Regions from separate parts of the Homo sapiens genome. Here region 1 is linked to region 2. The links are contacts of gene promoters, found by promoter capture Hi-C in human tissues and cell types (Jung and others, 2019). All regions are on one chromosome and are shown on one strand. The core of a region is centred on a gene start or on the middle of the fragment in contact, and the rest is flanking DNA. Distances in the headings are between cores, read along the strand shown. Region 1 overlaps MAP3K14 (mitogen-activated protein kinase kinase kinase 14). Region 2 holds the start of NMT1 (N-myristoyltransferase 1).

What was found. The method cuts DNA at HindIII sites, captures the fragments that hold promoters and counts their contacts. A contact is called where the count stands out against the background at its distance.
Region 1: a fragment that was not itself captured here is called in contact with the fragment with the promoter of NMT1 in region 2 in 2 of the 25 tissues and cell types used here (IMR-90 fibroblasts and mesenchymal stem cells).

Annotation. Positions count from the first base shown.
Region 1 is chr17:45,305,684-45,312,034 of GRCh38, reverse strand. The region is part of intron 1 of MAP3K14 (mitogen-activated protein kinase kinase kinase 14); the gene reads left to right. Among named protein-coding and RNA genes, the nearest start is that of MAP3K14, 8.2 kb to the left of the region's middle. RefSeq lists an enhancer at 4,184-4,323. The HindIII fragment of the contact is 4,981 bases long and covers 2,451-6,351 here.
Region 2 is chr17:45,059,331-45,065,793 of GRCh38, reverse strand. It overlaps NMT1 (N-myristoyltransferase 1), which reads right to left and starts at 4,477. Exons shown (of 12, transcript NM_021079.5): 1 at 4,334-4,477. The coding sequence starts at 4,464. It also overlaps a transcript of DCAKD not described here. RefSeq lists enhancers at 4,037-4,116, 4,059-4,353, 4,207-4,566, 3,714-4,705, 4,667-4,846 and 1 more. The HindIII fragment of the contact is 5,390 bases long and covers 1,746-6,463 here.

The DNA.
Region 1 (6,351 bases), core at 3,692-6,191, 250 kb before region 2:
GCTATGGAGGCAGGGGGCAGGAGGTAAACAGGAGGCTTCTGGGGCCAGTGGGCTGACAGCGGAGGGGGGATCGTGGACGGGGCACAGAGCCCAGATCAGCAGTGTCACTGACTCCTAAGTCCAGCCACCCTGAGGGTGGAAAATGGCCTGCTTCCAGTGACAGTCAGCAAAGAAGCAGGAGGGGAGCTTTGGCCCTGGGGAGCTGGGAAATCCCTTGGCAGAGAGCAGAGAGACAAGCCCTATTTTGGTGTGAAAAACCTTTTAGGAACGCTTTTCCACCTGCCTCCTTTTCAGCCACCTGAGTTGGAGTCTCTGCAGAGCTCCAGCGATTGTAAAGGCTAGATTAAACCCTGGATTTCAGAAAGCTTTAGGAATCCCAAGCCTGCCACCATCTCAGTTGTCTACACTTCTAGGACCAGGATTTGTACCAAGAAAGAAGCAGCAGGGGGTACTCCTGAGCCATCCCTCCCTCCCAGGTTCTGGTTACTACAGCTTCTCCTGACGCTCTTTCTGCTAAAGCCACTATCAGGTGTCCATTAACGCAGAGATTTTCTTCAGACACTGTTCTGGACTAGTGCAGTTGGTGTTGAACTTGACCGATTATGGTCAGGGACATCTATAAGCAATGTCCAGGACCAACTACAAGGAGGGCTTGACTTTAATGAAGCTGCAGCTCTTGCAAATAATCTCGTTCCCTGTCTCTGGCAGACTACCAACCCAGCCCCTGTACCCATACCCCATCAGTCTGGACCAACCAGTAGTCACCTCCTGCTGGCATGGCTAAATAACCTTAACCTCACTGTCCAGAAAGAGCTGTTAGGATTATAGCCTGGACATGATCATTCACATTTTTTGCAGTGAGAAAATGCAGAAGAGAAAATGGTGGCCCAAGAAAGCCAAGTGGGTTGCCCAAGGCCACACAGCTAGTTAATGGCAGAGCCTGAACTATAAAACCCAGACTCTTCACTGTACTCTGCTGCCAGGGAACGAAGGAACTAATCCTGAAGCAGGATTTTTTTTTTTAAACTAGCTTCTCCTTTTATTCCCCTACCACAACCCTATCACTCTCAGCCTTTCTGCAAGCTCTGCCAGGCCTGGGAAGGGTGGAGCCACAGCAGCTGCTGCCCTGGGTCTAAGAAAAAGTAAACAGAAAGCTATTTGTTGGACGCTGTCTTATACCATGAGGTTCATGTAATCAAAAGGAGGTCAAGGTTGATAAGAAAATACAATTACCAGGAAGTCTCAAAGGTTGCCCACACCTTTAGGGCACTTTCCTACCTAGCCAAGCAGTATCTCACCTAGAGTGGGTATTTAGTAACTTTCAATGATTGATTACAGGGGTCCAAACCCACAGTGCACGAAGCTCTTCTGCATCTTTCTTCTGTGCAGGAGGTGCATGCATACTCTGGGTGTTATCCTAGCTGATCTGCCTGGCTCCTCTCAGTGAGAGGCTCTTCCTTGTGGGTGAAGCATGATGTCATGATGTCATATCTGGATGGTGGCCCCTGTAAGTGCAAAGAATTATTGTAGCCAAAATCTACCACCCACCTTCTACTGACATTAAAGTTTCCTTTTACTGGGCCAGAATTAAAAGGTAGGTGTTTCTGGTCCATACTAGGGATAGCCAGGAGGGTTGGGAGGAAAAGGAGGCTTAGCCAGCCTCCAATGAGGATGTGGTTGCCAGTTAAGATTATAAATGGAGGCTGGGCACGGTGGCTCGTGCCTGTAATCCCAGTGCTTTGGGAGGCTGAGGCGGGCGGATCACAAGGTCAAGAGATTGAGACCATCCTGGCCAACATGGTGAAACCCCATCTCTACTAAAAATACAAAAAAGTTAGCTGGGCATGGTGGCACATGCCTGTAATCCCAGCTACTCGGGAGGCTGGGGTAGGAGAATCACTTGAACCTGGGAGGTGGAGGTTGCAGTGAGCCAAGATCCACCATTGCACTCCAGCCTGGGCGACAAGAGCGAAACTCCGTCTCAAAAAAAAAAAAAAAAAAAAAAAAGATGGACTCCTTTGGCCAAGGGAGTTGATTGGACCCACCAGACTCCTTGAGTCCTGCCCAACAGTCTCCACTGGCAGATGCTGTGCCTGGAGAGGCAGGAATAGCTTTGTATAGATCAATGTGAAGGACAGAGTCCTGCACCACCTCCCTCTAGCATGTATTAGATACTTGCAAATATATGCAAATCCGAGCCCAGATGGGTGTTGTCCAGTTCAGAAGGGTTATCTTCTCAAGCAATTAGAAGTAATTGGGTCTCTAGGTCAGCATTTAGGAAAGGGGATGGCAGGAGAGGCTCCACAGCCATCTTTCAGGACACCTGCTTGCTGGGGTGCAGTTAGAATACAGCCACCAAGTTGTGACTCCCTCCCTTCCAGCCTGCCAGGTGATTGGACAGTGTGGACACGTGTCCCTGTCCAGCCAGGCTCTCAGAGCCTGTGGCACTCATTTATTCCTCAGAAGTGTGTCTGTCCTTTCACTCAGGAACATTTGCCAAGTGTGTCAAATGGGCCATGTCTGCTAGGTGCTAGAAAACCAAACACAATTGAGGCACCGCCCTGGAGGACCTCACCAAGACAGGGGTAAGCTGGGCACGAAGGCAGACATCTCACAGGTCAACCCCGGTGCTGGTCAGGAGCCATGACTATAGGAGCTGGAGGGAGCGAGGAGGCCACCATGCGCAGCCCAGTGGCCCTCCTTTTCCAGCCTGAGCCAGCACTGTCAGGCGTAGAGCGTCTCGGATTCTGCAGGTGCCTGGGTGGGAACACCTTGGTATTTCTCTCACCCTGGGGTCTTGTACCACTTGTCAGCTTGGAGCGGGAGCTTGGTAACAGTTGGGCAACTTCAGCACTCTGGGGGAAAGAAGTGCATTTTCAGAAGCGTAGGGACAGTCAGGAGAAATTTGCTCAAATGTTGCTTGGGCACAGTGGCTCATGCCTGTAATCCCAATGACTTGGGAGGCTAAGGCAGGAGGATTGCCTTTTAGGCCAAGAACTGGAGACCAGCCTGGACAACATAGTGAGATCCACCTCCAAAAAAAAAATTTTTTTAAACTAGCTGGACATTGCCAGGCGCAGTGGCTCACACCTGTAATCCCAGCACTTCGGGAGGCCAAGACAGGCAGACCACTTGAGGCCAGGAGGTCAAGACCAGCCTGGCCAACATGGTGAGACCCGTCTCTACTAAAAATACAAAAATTAGCCAGGTGTGTTGGTGGGCACTTGTAATCCCAGCTACTCGGGAGGCTGAGGCACAAGAATCACTTGAACCTGGGAGGCAGAGGTTGCAATGAGCCATGATCGCACCACTGCACCCCAGCCTGGGCGACAGAGCAAGACTCTGTCAAAAAAAAAAAAAAAAGATTAGCTGGGCATGGTGGTGCTTACCTGTAGTCCAGCTACTTCAGAGGCTGAGGTGGGATGATCACTTGAGCTCAGGAGTTCGAGGCTGTAGTAAGCTATGGTTGTACCACTGCATTCCAGCCTGGGTGACAGAACAAGTCCTCTTCTCAAAAAAGAAAATATAGTTCAAAGTAGAATCAGACAGTGAGTAGCCAGCTAATAAACACATAACTGACCACCTCCCACCCCTCCAAGTGAGAATTGGGAGGGCAGTGACCACACTGGCACATCCCATAGGCTTGGTGCCACTAGAGAGTTGTAGGCAGGTAGATCAAGGCAGTGCTTCTAGGTAACTGGGTTCAGCATTCCAAGAAGGCCTTTCAAGGGTTTCAACAGAGAAGGCTCTTGGTCATCCTCATATTCCTGCTGGCCAGCACGGTGCCTGAAACATGGTAGCCACTGATTAAATATTTGCTGTTGAGTGAAAGTACAAGACTTGAATCCAAACTCCTCCCGCTAAGCCCTGCTGGCCTCGGGGAGGACGAGAGAGCCGTGGGCTGTTTCATGATTTACCCTCTTTTACCAAAGAATCGTGTGAGATCCTCTGAGAATATTCCTCATCATGCCCCATGTCCCAAGCCCTTTTTTACCTTCCCAAGGGAGGACAAGAATATGACCCCTCATTATAAAGGGACCCCTCTGCCACTCATGTCCTCAAGCTGGTTACTTGGTCCAGCTTGTCAAAGAGCATGTGGGGCAGCATCTGAAATGAGGCCAGGGTCAAGGTTGCCCCGCCACAGGGCGGAGCTGGACCTGTGCCTCCTTCCATGCATTGGAAGCCTTCTGTGGAAGCTGAGTTCTTTGGGTTTCTTGTTTATTCTGAAGTTCCTCAAACTAGTTCCTCAATTTCAGAACCAGTCACCAGTGACTACAATGAACTTGAATTCTCCTATACAGGGAGCCTGAGCCTGTCTTTCTTCATCTTTTCTGAACACAGGTAGACGCTGCTTGAAGCCACTCCCACCTCTGAAAACCAGATTTCTAAACCCAGAAAGGAGCGGTGGGTGGTTGTATTTCAGCGAGATTGACCGTAGCCTAGGGAACTTCTTGCTCAGAATCCACCCCAAAAGGTTAAATAAGGAGAGTTGTTTTTCACAACCAAAATGCTGCTTGTAACGATGATCTCAAAGCTTGGCAAGATCACAAAGTACGTTTTGAGTCATCAAAGAAACTGGCTGTGTTTCACATGATTTTAGTGTCAAGGGCAATTATGGCCATCTAATCTTTGGAAATTGGTCATGTTAAGTGGCATACAGGGCAGCCCCCACTTAATCAGAATATTCAGTTACACAAAATACCCTAAGTTGCTGATTTCGATGACACTTGAAATTTTTTTAATTAATTAATTAATTAATTTTTTTTTTTAATTTTTTGAGACAGAGTCTCACTCTGTTGCCTAGGTTGGAGTGCAGTGGCACAATCTCGGCTCACTGCAACCTCCACCTCCCGGGTTCAAGCGATTCTTGTGCCTCAGCCTCCCGAGTAGCTGGGATTACAGGCACCCACCACCACACCCAGCTAATTTTTGTATTTCTAGTGGAGGCAGCGTTTTGCCATGTTGGCCAGGCTGGTCTCGATCTCACAACCTCAGGCAGTCCGCCCGCCTGGGCCTCCCAATGTGCTAGGATTACAGGTGTGAGCCACCACTCCCGGCCTGAAAAATTTTTTATACAATATACATTAAACATTCCTTGTTGCTTATTGTATAAAATTAAGTACACGTGTGACAGGTTTTTATCTCAATACTACCTTGCCCGACATGTTCTCCTGCATATTGGGTCTTTGTGGATCCATGATGCCCCCTGTGGCGTCTTTTCTATTTGCTGTTGGCTCTCCTTGTGCAAAGGATTTGAAGGTTGAATTGAAAATACCATTGTAATACTTCTCTTTTAAAGCTTATAAAATGCCCTGTATCAGGGCCTGGGGGCAAAAGTACTGATGAAATTTATGAAGATAGCAAATGATGCTCGAGTCTTTGTTATAAAAAGAATGGTAAATAGGTTCAAGAAGCCTGCAGCCAGGCTTTGTAAAGTGAATGGCAAATTTGCATTTGTCATAGAATTTCTCCTTGGAATGGGCCTGGCTATGTCAGGCCTGGGTGGGCTGAGGAACACAGGCCCACCACAAGTCCAGCTTGGAGTCTTTCTTCCCTGTTGTCATTTTAAAGTTGCTTTTTCCAGAACATAGGCTGGCTGTAGTTCATGCTTCCTAATTAAGGTGCTTCCTCCCAGGCCAGTCCCTGAATTTCTCACTAACCTTTGACTTGTGACAGCTTCTGCATCTCGGTCCCAATTTTTAAAGCTTAGATCATTTGGGAGTAGGAAGAGTGTCATGGTTAAGAGTATGGGCTTTGACATAAAAGTCTCTTGTGCAAATCCTGCCGCTGCCACTTCACTGCTGTGTGGCCTTGGGCAAATTACTTGGCCTACTGAGGCCCAGTTTCTTCCTCCTTGTAAACGGATAACATTAGTGCCTTGCTCACAGAGTTGTGAGGATTCAAGAAAAAAATGCACGCATTACCTAATACATGGCAGATAATAATAGCTGTCATTATTATTCATTTGTATGATTACCAACAACCAGCATGTAGTTATGTGTATACAAATAGCAGATTGTTGTAACACTCAAAGATGACCACAGGACAACTAATTTCAGCTTTAGCTGCCAAGGAATTGTGGGTCCCAGTTCATCACGCAGAGCTGAGGCACTGCCAGTGGACACAGAAGCCAGATGGGGTGTGCAGAATGCTCTTCAAAGAACATCTTCATGGGTTCTTGCCGACCACTCTGTCCCTCTGCTTTCAGGATTGTCCTCCTCCTGCTTTGACCACATCTGTTCCAGACTTTCTGTCTGATGCTAGGGCTGCTGGCTAGAAGCTGTGGGAGGTAGGCTTCAGTGCCTTATAGCAGCAACTTTGAAGCAACTTAACACTTATAGACCATGACTC
Region 2 (6,463 bases), core at 3,228-5,727:
ACTTCTCTGTCAATTTTTACATGATTTTTGAGAACATTTTAAATAATATTAAGACAAAAAACATTTCAAGAAGCAAAACACAGTGGAAAGCACACAACAGTGGAAAGCTCCACAGCAAATTGGAGCTTCCTGGTTTCTGTAGGTATTTCTTTTTTTTTTTTTTTTTTTTTGAGACAGAGTCTGGCTCTGTCGCCCAGGCTGGAGTGCAATGGCGCAATCTCGGCTCACTGCAAGCTCCGCCTCACAGGGTCACACCATTCTCCTGCCTCAGCCTCCCGAGTAGCTGGGACTACAGGCATGCGCCACCACACCTGGCTAATTTTTTGTATTTTTATTAGAGATGGGGTTTCACTGTGTTAGCCAGGATGGTCTCGATCTCCTGACCTCATGATCCCGCCCGCCTTAGCCTCCCAAAGTGCTGGGATTACAGGTGTGAGCCACCATGCCCTGCCTCTGTAGGTATTTCATAAAAACTGTAGTGAGGCTTACAATGAGAATTATTTGGGGAGAGAAAATGTGTATGTAAGAAAAATCTGACATCCTCTCACTTGGTGAGGGGAGATGAAACTCCACTAATACTGGGCTAGGCACTTTAATATCTGCCATTCATTCATACAGCAAATACTCATTAATGCCCACTAAGTGCTAGGCATTTCGAAGACACAATCCTGTTTACATGCTCCTTACTGTCAGATGAGACAGGTACCAGACACATTAAGAAAAATTACCAAACATGTAGTTATATTTATTGTTATTATAACTATTGTTACGATAAAAGCTACAATACAGTATGTGATAAGAGCAGAGGGGCAAGCTGGGAGGTTAGGGACGATCTGAAGAAAGAGGAGGAGGGAGGAAAAGGAGTGCATTCCAGATGTTATCTCATTAATCCCTACAACTCTGAGTTAAGTACCTTTCCCAAGGTCACAGGACTGTTAAGTGTCAGAGCCAAGCTTTGAGATGAGATTTTGAGATCAGAGGCTTGCTCTGTCGCCCAGGCTGGAGTGCACTGGAGAGATCTCAGCTCAGTGCAACCTCTGCCTCCTGTTTTCAAGTGATTCTCCTGCCTCAGCCTCCTAAGTAGCTAGGATTACAGGCGCCTGCCATCATGCCCAGCTAATTTTTGTATTTTTAGTAGAGATGAGGTTTCACTATGCTGGCCAGGCTGGTCTCAAACTCCTGACCACAAGCGATCTGCCCACCTCAGCCTCCCAAAGTGCTGGGATTACAGATGTGCGCCACCGCGCCTGGCCTCAGACCAGATTTAAATTATTCCAAAGTCCATGCTTTTCTACTGTGCCGTGCTGCATTTTCCCACATTGCTGCTTCTCCCCAAAACCATTTCCTCTCAAAGTTCATGGAAAAATGTTGACTCTACCCCAGATTCTTAGTGCCAGAATTAGACTCTCTCCTCCAGACTAGGCCCTTGGTTTTTCACCTACTACCTCCAAACTCATTTTCACAGATCTTTAGATTTGGGACGCTAATAAACATAATTTTTTCACCCAGACCATAACCATGCACAGAGACACCACTGCAAACTGTCAAAGTTTTTAAGGTTATCACTTACTTCTACTACAAATAAAATAATTTTATTTATTTATTTTTTTGAGATGGAGTCTCGCTCCGTTGCCAAGCTGGTGTGCAGTGGCGCAATCTCAGCTCACTGCAACCTCCGCCTCCCGGGTTCGAGTGATTCTCCTGCCTCAGCCTCCCGAGTAGCTGGGACTACAGGTATGCACCACCATGCCCAGCTAATTTTTCTATTTTTAATAGAGACAGGGTTTCACCATGTTAGCCAGGATGGTCTCAATCTCTTGACCTCGTGATCCACCCGCCTCGGCCTCCCAGAGTGATGGGATTACAGGCATGAGCCACTGTGTGCCACTTTTTTTTCTGAGACAGGGCTTTGCTCTATTGCCCAGGCTGGAGTGCAGTGGTGCAATCTCAACTCACTGCAGCCTCCACCTCCCAGGTTCAAGTGATTCTCCTGCCTCAGTCTCCGGAGTAGCTGGGACTATAGGCGTACGCCACCATGCCCAGCTAAATTTTGTATTTTTAGTGGAGACGGGGTTTCACCATGTTGGCCATGCTGTTCTCGAACTGCTGACCTCAAGTGATCCACCTGCCTCGGCCTCCCAAAGTGCTGGGATTACAGGTGTGAGCTACCACGCCAGGCCAATAAAATAACTTTCTGGCACACAGTTTTGAAAAGTGATTCACAGATTATAGGGCACAAACCTAAGGACACTGGTCAGGACAACAGTTAAGAAGATAAAAATAAAAGCAACTACAAAAAGAGCAAAGAAAATGCCACACTTTCACTTCTGGAATGACTTTCACATTCACCAACTCTCATCTGTGATTCAGATCTCTACTCAGGAGAGCTTCACTTTCCCTTCTTCCTGTTCCTACTTCCTCTTTCTCAGCTCTTCCATTTTTAGGAATATCAAACTTCAAAAGAAGACTTTTATTACATTAGATCTGTTGTGAGTTACAGCAACAGAACAGTCTTATAAAAACTAAATTTGGCAAGCTTCCTATTCCTCTACTTTCTTCCTGTGATTTTTTTTTTTTTTTTTTTTTTTTGAGTCGGAGTCTCGCTCTGTCGCCCAGGCTGGAGTGCAGTGGCGTGATCTCAGCTCACTGCAAGCTCTGCCTCCTGGGTTCACGCCATTCTCCTGCCTTAGCCTCCCGAGTAGTTGGGACTACAGGCGCCCGCCACCACGCCCGGCTAAATTTTTTGTATTTTTAGTAGAGATGGGATTTCACAGTGTTAGCCAGGATGGTCTCGATCTCCTGACCTCGTGATCTGCCTCCCAAAGTACTGGGATTACAGGCATGAGCCACCATGCCCGGCCCTTCCTGTGATTTTTAATGCCGGCTGAAGAACATAAAAGCTAGATCTTTTAACCTAAGATTTACCACAAGCAGATTATAAACCACTTAAATACAGTCATGCTTCACTGAACGTCAGGCATATGTGCTGGGAAATGCATGGTTAGGTGATTTTTGCCTTGCCAACATTATAGGGTGTACTTACACAAATCTAGATGGTATAGCCTACTAAATGCCTAGGCTATATGGTGTACATTACAGTAACATGCTATACAGGTTTGTAGCCTAGGAGCAATAGGCTGCTGCATGTTACTGAGTACTGCAGGCAACTATAATACAATGGTAAGTATTTGTGTATCTAAGCATACCTAAACATAGAAAGGATACAATAAAAATATGTACTATAATCTTGTGGGACCATCTCTTCTACGCAGTCCTTGGTCTTTATACCTTTATATCTGCACTGCCACCAATACTGCGAATAACAAGCTGGCTACGAAAATCAGACTACCTCAGACTCAGCAAGTTATACACCCAAAAATCTCTCACGACTTTCAGTTTAAAAATATATCTACAAATATAGACAGGAAGATGGGGAGAGACAGCGTGAGTGCCAGTGCCAGGCACTAACCATGTGAAGAAAGATGAATAAGCTGTGGCTTACAGAAGTAAAAACTAATTTGGGAAAAGAATTCAACATTCAAATGCCTGGTGTGTTTCTTCATCCCTAGGAACAAATAGTAACTAATGGCAAGACCCTAAAGTACAGGATAGGCAGTATGGAGCCCGAGGATTCCAAATACTCTCCAAGAAACAACATCGCTCATTTCTTGAAGCCTGGGGCTGCTCTGCAAAGGTAACAAGGCAAAGATGTTCGAAGACTTAATTATATTAATATATCGTTCAGGATACTTATGGATTATTTGGAGCAATGGAAACTATGTAAATCAAAGCATTACCATACCGTTAATTACATAGGTTTATAAGGTGAGTTTATATTTTGGGATTCTCTGGTAGTGATATTTTACAATATAATTATACATACAGTTTGTATAGTCTGATGAGTTTCCTCACTGAGGGTGAACTGCTGCGAAATGTTTTATGATTCGTTTATTGCTAGTCACGTTGTTCAAACAACACGTCTATAAGTAACGTTCCCTTTGAACTGTACTGTTACTAGACTGTCCTGTGTTGTACCATCGAAAACCATCGTCCAACATGCTCTTTTCCCAGGAATGGCCTGAAGCACACGAGTGGAACACTGCATAGAACTTTTATATAATAAAAGTACTGAACGTCTCCGGCCCTTAATATCCAGAGCACCCACCCTTGGTAAATGACAAAGGCAATAACCAATCGCCAGGCAGAATCCTAGTGACTTAGCCAATAAGAACATGAGGGTGGGGCTAGACTAAGCTCCCGGTGACTTCCCCGCACCCCAGAGACCCAGGTTGTGGGAGGCTGGACGGGAATTGGACTCCGAGGATTTCGTTACCCCCGGTTGTAGCTGTTGTCCTCCTCATTCTCGCAATCGCTGCAGTGCTCATGGCCGTTCCCGTTCCCTTCCATCATCTGCGGCAGCGGAGGTGCCGGCGGCTTCACTGCTGTCTCACTCTCGTCCGCCATCTTGAGTTGCGAGAGCAGGGCTCCGCGCCCCACTACATGGGGGGTTCCTATTGGACAAGGGGAATTTGCGCTGCATTCTGGGTTTTGTAGTTTTTCTGGCGAAGCGAGCTGCCACTAGGAGCGACTCTTTCCCAGGAAACTGACTACAATACCCAGGAATCACGAGGGACGGCTCCGGTCGGATTAAGAGGCGGGGCCACTGATACCCGGAAGCCTAGGCATTCGGCCACGCTTTGAGGAAAGAAGGGGCGCAAGGTTGGTGGGACCGACCCTTGGGAACCGGGCGGCCGCCTGGCATGATGGGAGTTGTAGTTCGATGCTGGTTTAGGGTTTCAGGCGTGGAGGTTCCAAAATCCGAGGTTTGATTTCAGCCTGCCCTTGCCAGTGCCTGGGCCGCTGGGAGCCGTTATTGGCTGCCGTTAAGGACCGTTACGTTTCCCGGGTAAGTGAAAGGGCCTGAGGCCCGCGGGTGCTACCTGCCTGGAGCCGGAATGCCCCAGGCCTTCTTAGAGTGGGCTTTTCCGCAAGAAGCCTAGTTGACTCCTGGCCGCCTTCCTCACTCGGGAGTCTGGGCAACCTGCGGTCATTGGCAGTTCAAGGTCTCATGAGAGGCAGTGGATTTTTTTGTGCGAAGCACTGACCCTAAGCCAGGAGACCACACTGCTAGGGAGGCAGGGCTCGCCGCCTCATCTTGGCCTCCAGGTACTTATCTTCGCCAAGCTCTTTCGCGCACACGTGGTCCCTTTAATTCCCCACAAGAATTTTCCACAACGACCCTTTTTTTCTTTTCTTTTCTTTCTTTCTTTCTTTTTTCTTTTTTAAATACGGCCGCCTTCTGTCGCCCAGGCTGGAGCGCAATGGCTCAAGATCACAGCTCACTGCAATCAAGGTATCCTCCCACCTCAGCCTCCCAAGTACCTAGGACTATAGGCATGAGCCACCACACCCGGATAATTTATATATTTTTTGTAGAGACGAGGGTCTCGCCTTGTTGCCCAGGCTGGTCTCGAACTCCTGGCCTCTAAGGATCTTCCTACCCCAACCCCGCAAAGTGCTGGGATTACAGACGTGAGCCACGGCACCCAGCCCACATCAACTCTTTCTTTAATAAGTGCCAGACTCTGTAGTAAGGCATTTCGTACATTATCTCATTTAATCCTCTCAACAAGTCTACAATATAGGTCCTATTATTATTATTCAACCTTTGTTTTGTTTTGTTTTGTTTTGAGACGGAGTCTCTCTCTGACTCCCAGGCTGGAGTGCAGTGGTGCGATCTCGGCTCACTGCAACCTTCGCCTCCTGGGTTCAAGCGATTCTCTTGCCTCGGCCTCCTGAGTAGCTGGGATTAAAGGCGCACGCCACCACACCTGGCTAATTTTTGTATTTTTAGTAGAGACGGGGTTTCACCATGTTGGTCAGGCTGGTCTCGAACTCCTGACCTCGTGATCTGCCCATTTCGGCCTCCCAAAGTGCTGGGATTAGAGGTGTGAGCCACCGTACCTGGCCATATTGACCTTTTTGACAGATGAAAAAATGTGGCCCTGAGAGGTTGGTAAATTGCACAGTCACATAGCTGGTTAAGTGGCAAATCGGTATACAAATCCAGATCTGTGTGCCCCAGGCCCTCTGAATTCTTTGCCACCATAAAAGTCCCATTTTCTGATACACTATTCACTCAAGGAAATCAGTTACTAAAAGGTAACTGTGACTCCAGTGCGTATTCTATATCAGGGGAAAAAAGGTAACTGCCACATTTTAATCTGTTTTTAACCTTGATTGAATGTTTCAGTCCCTGAGTCTCACTCTTTTGATTGAGTAATCTCGCCTAAGTGCCCAAAGACATGGTTCCCATTCTTGGAAATTTCCTATTCGGGTTGAGTGTGGTGGGTGATGAGAGGACTAATTCTTACCATCAGAGTGCTCCATGGCCAAAAAGGGAAATGATCTTTGCCTTTGGGAAAGATCTCAACATGGGAAGAATGGCAGGGCGGGAAGAAAC